Regions from separate parts of the Homo sapiens genome. Here region 2 is linked to region 1. Evidence: promoter capture Hi-C in 16 types of primary human blood cells and fetal thymus (Javierre and others, 2016). All regions are on one chromosome and are shown on one strand. The core of a region is centred on a gene start or on the middle of the fragment in contact, and the rest is flanking DNA. Distances in the headings are between cores, read along the strand shown. Region 1 holds the start of USF3 (upstream transcription factor family member 3). Region 2 overlaps SPICE1 (spindle and centriole associated protein 1).

The links. Contacts are between HindIII fragments. The CHiCAGO score rates a contact against its expected background, and 5 or more counts as called.
Region 2: a fragment that was not itself captured here is called in contact with the fragment with the promoter of USF3 in region 1 in 4 of 17 cell types (fetal thymus, megakaryocytes, naive B cells and 1 more); the score reaches 8.5 in fetal thymus.

What each region holds. Positions count from the first base shown.
Region 1 is chr3:113,694,481-113,699,850 of GRCh38, forward strand. It overlaps USF3 (upstream transcription factor family member 3), which reads right to left and starts at 2,162. Exons shown (of 7, transcript NM_001009899.4): 1 at 1,890-2,162. RefSeq lists silencers at 1,493-1,882, 1,903-2,372. The HindIII fragment of the contact is 8,785 bases long and covers 1,224-5,370 here.
Region 2 is chr3:113,494,581-113,499,950 of GRCh38, forward strand. SPICE1 (spindle and centriole associated protein 1) reads right to left here. Exons shown (of 18, transcript NM_144718.4): 4 at 4,859-5,002. It overlaps SPICE1-CFAP44 (SPICE1-CFAP44 readthrough (NMD candidate)), which reads right to left. Exons shown (of 52, transcript NR_183050.1): 4 at 4,859-5,002. Among named protein-coding and RNA genes, the nearest start is that of SPICE1, 18 kb to the right of the region's middle. The HindIII fragment of the contact is 178 bases long and covers 1,207-1,384 here.

The sequences.
Region 1 (5,370 bases), core at 912-3,411:
GCAATGCACTCCTTTTATATCAGCGAATGTTCTAGGCTGCATCCAGATTTTGCAAAACTCCTAAATACAGGGAGATCCCAATACCTATGTACACCTAAGTCTTTTAGCTTAGACCAGGAGTGTCCAATCTTTTGACCTCCCTGGGGCACACAGGAAGAAGAAATGTCTTGGGCCACCCATCAAATACACTAACACTAACGATAGCTGATGAGCTTAAATAAATAAGTAAATAAATATCACACACAAACATCTCATAATGTTTTAAAAAGTTTACAAATTTGAGGCCGGGCGCAGCGGCTCATGCCTGTAATCCCAGCACTTTCGGAAACAGAGGCAGGCGGATCACCTGAGGTCAGGAGTGCAAGACCAGCCTGGCCAACATGGAGAAACCCTGTCTCTACTTAAAGAAATAAAAATTAGCTGGGCTGGTGGCATGCACCTGTAATCCCAGCTACTCAGGAGGCTGATGCAGGAGAATTGCTTGAACCCAGGAGGCGGAGGTTGCAGTGAACTGAGATAACACCACTGCATTCCAGCCTGGGCGACAGAGTGAGACTCTGTCTCAAAAAAAATAAAAGAAAGTTTACGAACTTGTCTTCTTGTCTTGGGCCGCATTAAAAGCCGTCCTTGGACGGGGGTTGGAAAAGCTTGGCTTAGGCTAAAGCAAAACTGCTTTAGGATTAAGCATTCATTCTTGCATGGATACATTACACTACTTCTGCTTTCAGAAGTGCAATTACAATGTATTTTACTTCTTTTGTAACAAATACTTTGAGTACTTAAAGAGAAACAACACATGTATCCCAAACAGCAACTCTGTACTATGTTAAACAAGAGTTCTATGGGAGAGAAAAAAGTCATCAAGGTGAATGGAGAGTAGGACAGCCTGTTGATCCTTCAAAAGGCAGGTTTGTCTGTTTGGTTTTCTTTACAAAAGAGCAAACCTGGGAATATGTTTCAGGATCCATGTAACTCACCGTAAGATTTATTCAAGAAATCTGTACGTTGTTTATAGGTAAGGAAATGTCTTCTTTGCCTACACAGTTGGCCACGACTGTCTTGATCTGTGTGGTGTTAGGTTACTGTATCTACTTGATGGTAAAAATGTTACAAGAACGGAAGTTGAAATTCTGCACTTTGGTTTATGCAGTCTCATATTTCCAGATAAAGTTAATAAACGCAAAGGACCATATCCCAATGTAACGAGGAGGGTTGGGAGGACAAGCTTCAAGAACGAGTGGGGTGAATTCAACTATCAAAATTGTAAACATGAACAAGAGTCCAGGAATCTTATATTTCATCCGGATACATGAAAGTAGATTTCAAGAGTTGGTCATTCACTTGCACTGCTTCTACTCAGAAAGCAAAAGAACGGCTTCTAAAAAGAAAACACAAGCCTAACACTTCGACAGAGGGGTGAGAGGGAAAAAGCAAGCCACATGAGTCTGACGAACGGGTACGAAAGAAATTCAGAGGGCAAGGAAAGAAGGGGAATGAAGAAGACAGGAAAAGGTGAAGGAGGCGGGCAAAGGCCATCTGGTGTGAACCTGGCTGCCCAGCTCTTTATGCACCCAGGGCAGCGTGGGGCCCCTCTCGCCCCGCGCGCATCTAGGAGCTGGGGCGCAGTGCGAGCCCCCCACGGGCCTGGCAGCCGGGGACGCAGGGCGGGCGGGAGATGAGGGGTGCGCTCGCCGCGGGCGCTGACGCCCCACCAGGTGCCGCACGCAAGGGTCCCCAGGAAGGAGGCGCACTTAGCGCAGCCCTGGCCTCCCGGAGCAGGAAGGGGGTGGGTGGAGCTGAGCCCGGGGCCGCCCTCCGGAGCCGCCCCCGCAGCCCTGGCCCCCGCCCCCCGCCCCGGCTGTCAGCGGCCCCCTCCCGCAGTCACTTACCCGCCGGCTGCGCGGTCTCGGCCGCGGTGGCGGCGGCGACGGCGGCGACCCCCGCCTGGGTCATGATCCCAGGAGGGGAAGGCAGGAGTGTCTGACCGTCTGGGCGAATCTCTCCGTCCGCGGCCACCGCCTGCTCCTCCGGGGCTGGGGGAGCGCGGGCCCAGGCCCTCCTCTCCCCCCGCCCCCGCCGCCTCTTTTTGCGGCCACCGCAGCCGCTGCGAGCCCGAGCCCTCAAGGCCGGAGACCCGGCGGCAGCGCGGCCTCAACTTTCCCAGCCCCCCTCCCCCCGCCCCTCCCCGCCCCTCCCGCGGCCGCAGCTCAGCAAGCGAACAGCCTACCCTGGGCGCGCCGCGTTCCCGCCTCTTTCACTCAACCCGCCAATCAGGCTGCGGGAACGCTGCCGTGGTAGCCAATAAGAAGACAGAATGCCGTTGCACTACGCTAGAGGGCGGGAGGAGGCGGAGAGGAAACCAAGGAGTGAACGGGGATCGGGCGGCCCAATGAGGAGGGCCGGGGGGCGGAGGTGTGCAAGTTGGGTTGAAGAAACAGGAAATATTCTTAAAGGTAGAGTGACGGACAGGAAGGAAAGCCAGTAGGTGAATGGGAAAGAGGTGGGCCTGGTTCCTTAAAGGGGACGCCTTGAGAACCTAGAAAAGAAGGTGTTTTAAGAAACTTCTTTGTATCTTCTTCTGTGGTCTCTTTTCTTCGTCTTTCGGTAGGAGTTTGGAAGTGGAAAAATTGAAAAGGAAGAGGGCACGGAAGTCTTTCGGAATAGTTAGCCCCTCTTAACGTGGAGGGCAGGAAGGTGAGAAGATACGTCTTAGTAAATGTGGAGAAGAAAGAATCAGACGTTTCCGACTTCTCGATAACTGGAAGATTGTTGCTGACTTGACGCTGCTCGCATTCGTAGGCTGTGGTCTCTTGTCATCCTTTATTTGCAACAACACACAGATTTCTGTGAATTGGAGATGGCCATGTTCAGAAATGCCCTGGGGGCCTCCCAGCTGGGACAAGGGAGTTTGGCATTGGGGGATGGGGTTTGAGATCTCAAGCCTGGGTTACTAAATACCTGGATCTAGGAGAGGTAGGGCCAGGGGTCACGAAATGGAGACCTGAGTGCCCCTTAACTCCAGGATCTGTGTGGAGCCCTTGGAACCGTGATCACAACTCCCTCTTCCTAGTTTCGCTTCATATTTTATAACCTCCTGCTGAAACAGGTGTCCTCCACCTAGTTGCGGTTATAGATTTCCAAGCCCTTCCACAACCAGATTTGGAAATATCCCAGATCTTAGATGTCCGTGGGCTAACTTCCAGAAGGTGCACACAGGGCATGGCATAATGGGAATTACTTGAGCCTGTATACAGAAGCAGCAGACATCGCATTGAGCAAAAGGGTAAAGGCTAACAGTAACGGAGTCTTATGTTTGTACAGCAGATTGAAAAGCTATGATGAAACGGAAGGCCTGTAATGTTGCTTATAAACTGTGGTACTAATAAACAGGCTAGAAATTTTCTTTAACTCATCCATCTAGGCACACGAAGTTCTAATTAGCCTTTGAACAGACTTGGCACATCCAAATCAAAACTGCAGATAAGAAAGATTCTACGAGTCAGAGCCATAATAGCAATGCTAATAACATCACCATAAAATTGTATAGTATTGGTATGCTCAGCCATAGGAAACAATTTCCAGTGTGTTCAGAATACAAGGTATTTCTCGTTAACAAATATCATATCCAGGGTGTGCATGATTTCCTAAACAACTGCAATGCATCAATTCTAAAGTAAAAACAAATAGTTTTGATGATTCATGAAACAGAATTTAACCATTCCTTTAGATCACCTTTAAAAAATACACATTAATATATTTCTGGCACGATATAGACGTAGAAAAGAAGAACAATTTCCGTTTGATAAAGATCAGAATATTAGCTTTTTAAATTAATCCTTATTACCTAAGTGTAGCCTAAATCCCAAACAGGGATTTTTCTCTTTTCTTTTCTTTTTCTTTTCCTTTTCTTCCCTTTCCCTTTCCTTTCCTTTCCTTTGTTTTCCTTTCCTTTCCTTTGTTTTCTTTCTTTTCTTTTTTCCTGCGACAGGGTCTCCCTCTGTTGCCAAGGCTGAAGGTCAGTGGCACTGTAACAGCTCACTGCAGCCTCCACCTCCCAAACTCAAGCGATCCTCCCACCTCAGCCTCCCAAGTAGCTGGAACCACATGCCCGGCAATTATTTTTTTCTTTTGGATAGAGATGGGGGTCACATTATGTTGCCCAGGCTGATCTTCAACTCCTGGGCTGAAGCCCAGAGATCTTTTTTTTTTTTGGCTTTACCCATTCAACATCAGTTTCAGATAATCACACCAGTCCTATTTTCAAACTAGCTGGCAGTGCTTACAGTGACCTATATTGGTGGTAAAATATACTGGCCAAGTGAAACTGGTCTATAGGGCTGTTAGTTCATTTTTTTCAAGTGGACAGAGTGAATCTGATTTTCACCCACATTCTTGAGACTTTTCAATGGTGCTGAAAGACTATTTGCATGATATATAAGTACTTCCTTGCATCCCCAGTTTCATATCAAGACCTCCGTTTTTTCCTACTACTGGAGATGAGTGACTGCGGGAGGAGGCTACTGAAAGCCTGGGGCGGCGGCCAGAGCTGCGGGGAGGCCCCGGCCTCAGCTCCACCCACCCCCATCCTGCTCCAGGAGGCAAGAACGCGCAAAGTGAGCCTCCTTCCTAGGGACTACTGTGTGCGGTACCTGGGGGGTGCCAGCGCCCGCGGGGTGCGCACCCCTCTTTTCCCCGCCTGCCCCGCGTCCCCGGCTGCCAGGCCCGTAGATGCGCGCGGGGCGACAGGGCTCCCATGCTGCCCTGAGTGCATAAAGAGCTGGGCAGCCAAGTTTACACCAGGTGACCTTTGCCCGCCTCCTTCACCTTTTCCTGTCTTCTTCACCCCGTCTTCTTTTCTTGCCCTCTGATTCTCTTTCGGAACCACTCGACTCCTGTAGCTTGCTGGGTTTTTTTAGTTTTTCTTGTGTGTTTGTTTTTTGAGACGGAGTCTTGCTCTGTCGCCCAGGCGACTCACTGCAACTTCTGCCTCCCGGATTCAAGCGATTCTCCCGCTTCAGCCTCCTGAGTAGCTGGGATTACAGGAGCACGCTGCCACGCCCGGCTAATTTTTTTGTATTTTTAGTAGAGATGGGGTTTCACCATGTTGGCCAGACTCGTCTCGAACTCCTGACCTCAGGCAATCCGCCTGCCTTGGCCTCCCAAAGTGCTGATTTCAGACGTGAGCCACAGCGCCCGGCCTTTTTTTTTTTTTTAATGGAGTCTCGCTCTCACCCAGGCTGGAGTGCAGTGGCACGATCTCGGCCCACTGCAACCTCCAGCTCCGAGGTTCCAGCGATTCTCCTGCCTCAGCCTCCCGAATAGCTGGGACTACAGGCGTGCGCCACCACACCCAGCTAATTTTTCGTCGTT
Region 2 (5,370 bases), core at 46-2,545, 200 kb before region 1:
AGCTTGCAGTGAGCCGAGATCCCGCCACTGCACTCCAGCCTGGGCGACAGAGCGAGACTCCGTCTCAAAAAAAAAAAAAAGAAATATTCACAATTGTGACCCACCACATTTACATACACATATACAAAATAAAAGTTTTAATTAAATAAAAAGTTAATTAAAATAAAAGTTTTAATTAACCTTGCTCCATGAGAACCACTGATATTTTCTTGTTAATTTCTATTCTATTTTTTAAATGTTGGCAGCAACTCACTTCACAATTCATTAACAAATTATAATCCATAGTTTGAAAAACACAGATGAAAGATATGAATCTTTGAGCCATAAACTTAGAGGTGTTTCAACCACTAGAGTGAATTCAGAATCCACTAATGTAATCCACTAATGTGTCAAGTCATGACCTACAACTTTAAAAACATGACATAAGATATGAGTTTTAGCATTAAACAAAAAATGTGAGGCCTCTGTGTTTAAAAACAAATCAGTTTTTTACCCTGGAGAGGTAAGAACACAAAAAGTAACATTACAGTAGTGCCTCTGGATTATGCACTTTCAACTTAGGAACTTTCATAATTAAAAGTAAGGCCACAGGCTAGAGTAAAAGCCAGATAATTCTCTCGGCACCACCACCAGATGGCATTCTCAAGTTAAAAAGTACCTGGAAACTGCTCAGTTTCCAACACTTGACTCAAATTGATAAAATATCTGATAACAAATACTCTTACCAGAATTTCTCTATACTACAGAATCAAATACATACACAATGTGACCTCAGTTATTGTTTTAAGACACAGAAAGAAAAATAGCAAGAGTCACATTCTTAATTTTTCCCCTTCTTCCCCGGCTATAGCCAAGCAGGTTGGCTGACTCAGTGAGAAGAAAGCCCTGAATTTATTCCTTCTACAAAGAGTAAGCTTTGGAATGGTATCAGGTCAAGAGCACATCAGACCCAGAAGACTGAGAGTCCAGTCCCAGTCAACAACCCTTCCCCAGCCCCACAGGGGTGGTAGATGGATATGGAAACACTGAAAACCTATATACCACTCTAGAGATGTTTCAGAATTTTGCTATAACTTAAATTATATTATCCCACAAACCAAATTTCTATTCTTACTTAGCCGTCTTGCAAGTACAAGGAATTATGAGCTTAGGAAAGAATGTGAATGAATGAGTATAATCTTTCACTATACCAGAAAAATTACACAAAGCTTATTTCCTAATAATAATTTTAAGAGTTTACTATTTTTTAAAAGCATTGACCTATCAAAATAAAGAGATGGAATTGACACATGAAGATTATAATCTTATAACCATATTGAGACCTGATATTGATTATAATGAGGTCTCATGTAAAAACCATTATCTGTCACCTTCTGCTAGTCCAAGCTTGTCCAACCTGTGGCTCAGGATGGCTTTGAATGTGGCCTAACACAAATTTGTAAACTTTCTTAAAACATTATGAGATTTTTTTTTTACAACTTTTTTTTTTTTTTTTTTTTTTTTAGCTCATCAGCTATCATTAATGTTAGTTTATTTTATGTGTGGCCCAAGACAATTCTTCTTCTTCCAATGTGCCCCAGGGAAGCCAAAAGACTGGAAACCCCTGTTTAGTCCCTGCCCTTGGGAAAAATGGTTTGAGTGATCAAAGATCAGTGTATTGGCTTTTACTTCTTCTTTCTAGATTTATAACTCCTCTCATAAAGCCCATCCATTTGACAGGTAAACTGATCTCTACAAGCCTAACTCTATCTATTACTCCTCAAATGAGTTTGCAGAGCACAAACTTAAACCTGTAAGTGGTGGTACACATGTTGGATTTTCAAAGGATCCCAGTCTCTACAAAAAAAAAGACATTATCAGAAACTCGTCATCTTAGCCCTTTTGTACCACAGTAAAAGACATGAGGTAGAATTGGGAAATTACAAAGAGGCTTTAGGAGTTATTACATTTTGGGGATTTATAAGATCTTTTTGAAAGCCTCTCCATGAGTGAGAGGGAACCCTAATTTGCTTGATTCCCATGGCATGGGTACATCTTACAGCAAATGAAATCTAAGATTATGCTGGCCAAAGAGCTTTCTCTTAATTTATGTTAATCTGGGAGTCCAGCTTCAGGTGGATGGGTCCTGTTAGCTTTAATACATAATGATGAAGCTTATGTGAATATGTCTAAGGAGGCTTCTTCCTTTGGTCCACTGCATCCCTTAAACAGAGACGTTGCAAATTTACCAACATTGAAATAAAAGATGCACATATCCATTGACTAAGCAATTCTACTTTTAAGAATTTATCCTGAAAATATACTTACATGTGTACCCAAAAACATTTTCAAGGATATTTATTACATTATTGATAGTAGCAAGGTAGAAGACAATCTGTGGGTAACTGACAGTACTACTTAAGTATCCAGCAATGTTCTTTTGGTTTCTCCTTTAACAGCAGAACTCCTGCATTTTAGCCAATTACATAGCTAGATTTCCCAACCATCTTTGTAAGTGGGAATGGCCATGTGATGACTTTCTGGCCAACAGGATATATGCCAGAACTTCTGGGTGACATGTAATAGGAGTAGCATGCACTGTTCTTCCTGTTTCCTGCTGGCTGGCATATAGCTGAATGAAGCTGCTATGGCCATTTTGTATTCAGAGACAGAAGCTGTGTAATAAAGGACTGCAGAGTTCCCTACCAGCTACCACTTTCCTCTCAACTGTTTAATAAACAGAAACAAATTTGTTTGTTTAAAGCAAAACATATAGGAGGGTATTTTTTTATTTCCAGAAGCTTAAACTATACTCTAACACACAACCTAAGTGTTCACCAATAAAGCACAGGATAAATAAATTGTGGTACATCTATATGCTAATGGCCATCAAAAAGAAAAGGTAGATGTCTAAGCACTGACAGGAAATTATCCCAAGATATGCTGGTAGAGAGAAAATACCTGAATCCTGATGAGAGCTGAGGTGCTCAACCCCTGCAGCACATTCAAATTACATAGGAACTGTCTAAAAAACACCTACATGGGGCCACATCCTAGGTCAACTAAATCTGAATCTCTGGGTATAGAGTCCAGATATAGTTATATATATATGCATACATACATAGAGAGAGAGAGAGAGAAAGAGAGCTTTTTTTTTTTTTTTTTTTTTTGAGACAGAGTCTCACTCTGTTGCCCAGGCTGGAGTGCAGTGGCACAATCTCAGCTCACTGCAACCCGGATTCAAGCGATTCTCCTGCCTCAGCCTCCTGAGTAGCTGGGACTACAGGCACCTGCCACTGTACCCAGCTAATCTTTAGGGCTTTTTTTTTTTTTTGGTTTTGCTGTTGTTGTTTTTGAGACAGGCTGGAGTGCAATGGACCAATCTCGGCTCACTGCAACCTCCGCCTCCCAGGTTCAAGCAATTCTCCCACCTCAGCCTCCCAAGTAGCTGGGATTACAGGCACCCGCCATCATGCTCAGCTAATTTCTGTATTTTTGTAGAGATGGGGTTTCACCATGTTGGCCAGGCTGGTCTTGAACTCCTGACCTCAGGTGATCTGCCCGCCTTGGCCTCCCAAAATGCTGGGATTACAGGCATGAGCTGCCACACCCAGCTGTTATATATTTTTTTAATGGAGCTTCTTGACCCTGACTGATTCTAATGTGCAGTGAGAGTTGAGAACCACTATACTAGTGCCTGAGGCAGCAGATCTACAAAAAGAAGGCAAAGAAACATCACTCATCGTCTCTCACCACCCTTCTTTAAACACCTACTTCTACCACATCTATAACTTGTATGAGAAATTCAGGACATGAGCAGGAACCACTAGAGAAAGGAAAATAAGCCCAGAGTCTGATGCAATCCAAGCAGGCTGCCTTTTTTCGTGGTGAGATCTGTGTTTTTAGGCCTTTCACTGAGAATTACCCCATAACATTTAAATGTATGCGACTTGTCCAAGATCACCAAAAGATACTTACCTGTAAAGAAGCATTCTCTCAATCAAGCCACTGTTCTTTTCTCAAGCTCATGTAAACATTTATTTGGGAGATATTATTCTTCCTGATGATGTCTAAGACTGAGACTTTATTTCAATAAGAAGCCTAACAAATTCCTCAAAAGAAAATGTATGATTCAAAGCTGCCGTGAAAGGTCAGACAGCTAAGTGCTGTACATAAGCTTCAATATGAACAAGGAGCAACACTACAGACAAAGCACATTCCTTCACAATGACTTCAGCTCAAATTTAAAAAGGTTATTTGCTGTAGTTTCCTCTTATTTCCCATATTGTTTATCCCTACATATCTGATTACTTATCTGAACACCCCACGTCTGGCAAAAGGTTAAGCCAAAGACAAGTTGCTTATTACTCAGTTGGACAAGCATACAACATCATTTTTTTTTCAAAGTAACCTAACAGCACTGCTGTTAAACTGAGAAAAATAATTATAGCAGCTTATATATAAAAAGAGGAATAAGAAAAGATTGTGCTAATCACTTTACTGAGAAAAATTATTATAGCAGCTTATATACAAAAAGAGGAATAAGCAAAGATTGTGCTATTCACTTTGTAAGTATTATATCACTGAAATCTCATAGCAATACAAGCAAATAATAATTTTAAATATGAGAAAATTCAGGCTGAAAAGTTAAATAATTTACTTAGGGTCACACAGCTGGTAAGTAGTAGAACAGGAATTCAAACCACCAAACCAGACTCCAGTCACCACTCTGTTGCTTTTTTTGAAGTCCACATGTAGATTATTGAATAAGAATGCAGTGATTACTAGAGTCTCTCCAACGTGAATCAAATTGAAGAAAAACAAAGAACCCTATTTATCTCCTTTTTTTCTTTCTAACTCTAATGCAGTTTAGCATTACCTCCTTCATGATAGACAATCTTCTTTTCTCAAGATTTAAAGTTTCTGGTTTCTGCTTCCTCCATTTTCTCTTCAAAGCTTTTTCTTGGAGTTCCCAGTGTACTAATGCTCTATTCTTCGATTTGTGTATTTCATGACGGCGTACCTATACAGAAGAGAAAAGTACATAAAGGAATGTTTCAGACACAAAGAAGTTGCCTATTCAGATGATGAGATCACCTACTCTAGTTCATCACTTTTTAAACTTTTTCTGGTCCAATATGTGCATGTTTATATATATTCATAGCCAAAATTTTCAGTCCCCTAAATTTTCAAAAATGATCTTAAAGAAAGCAGTATATAGAACTGGTAAACCTACCTAAAAGATGTACAGAAAGAAATAATAATTTCTACTACTTTTCTGCAAGACTATCCAGCAAACTAGTGTTTTTCAAACCACAGGTTGGGACTCACTTAATGGATGATAAAATCAATTCATGGGTCAAAACCAGCATTTTTTTTTAACATACACAT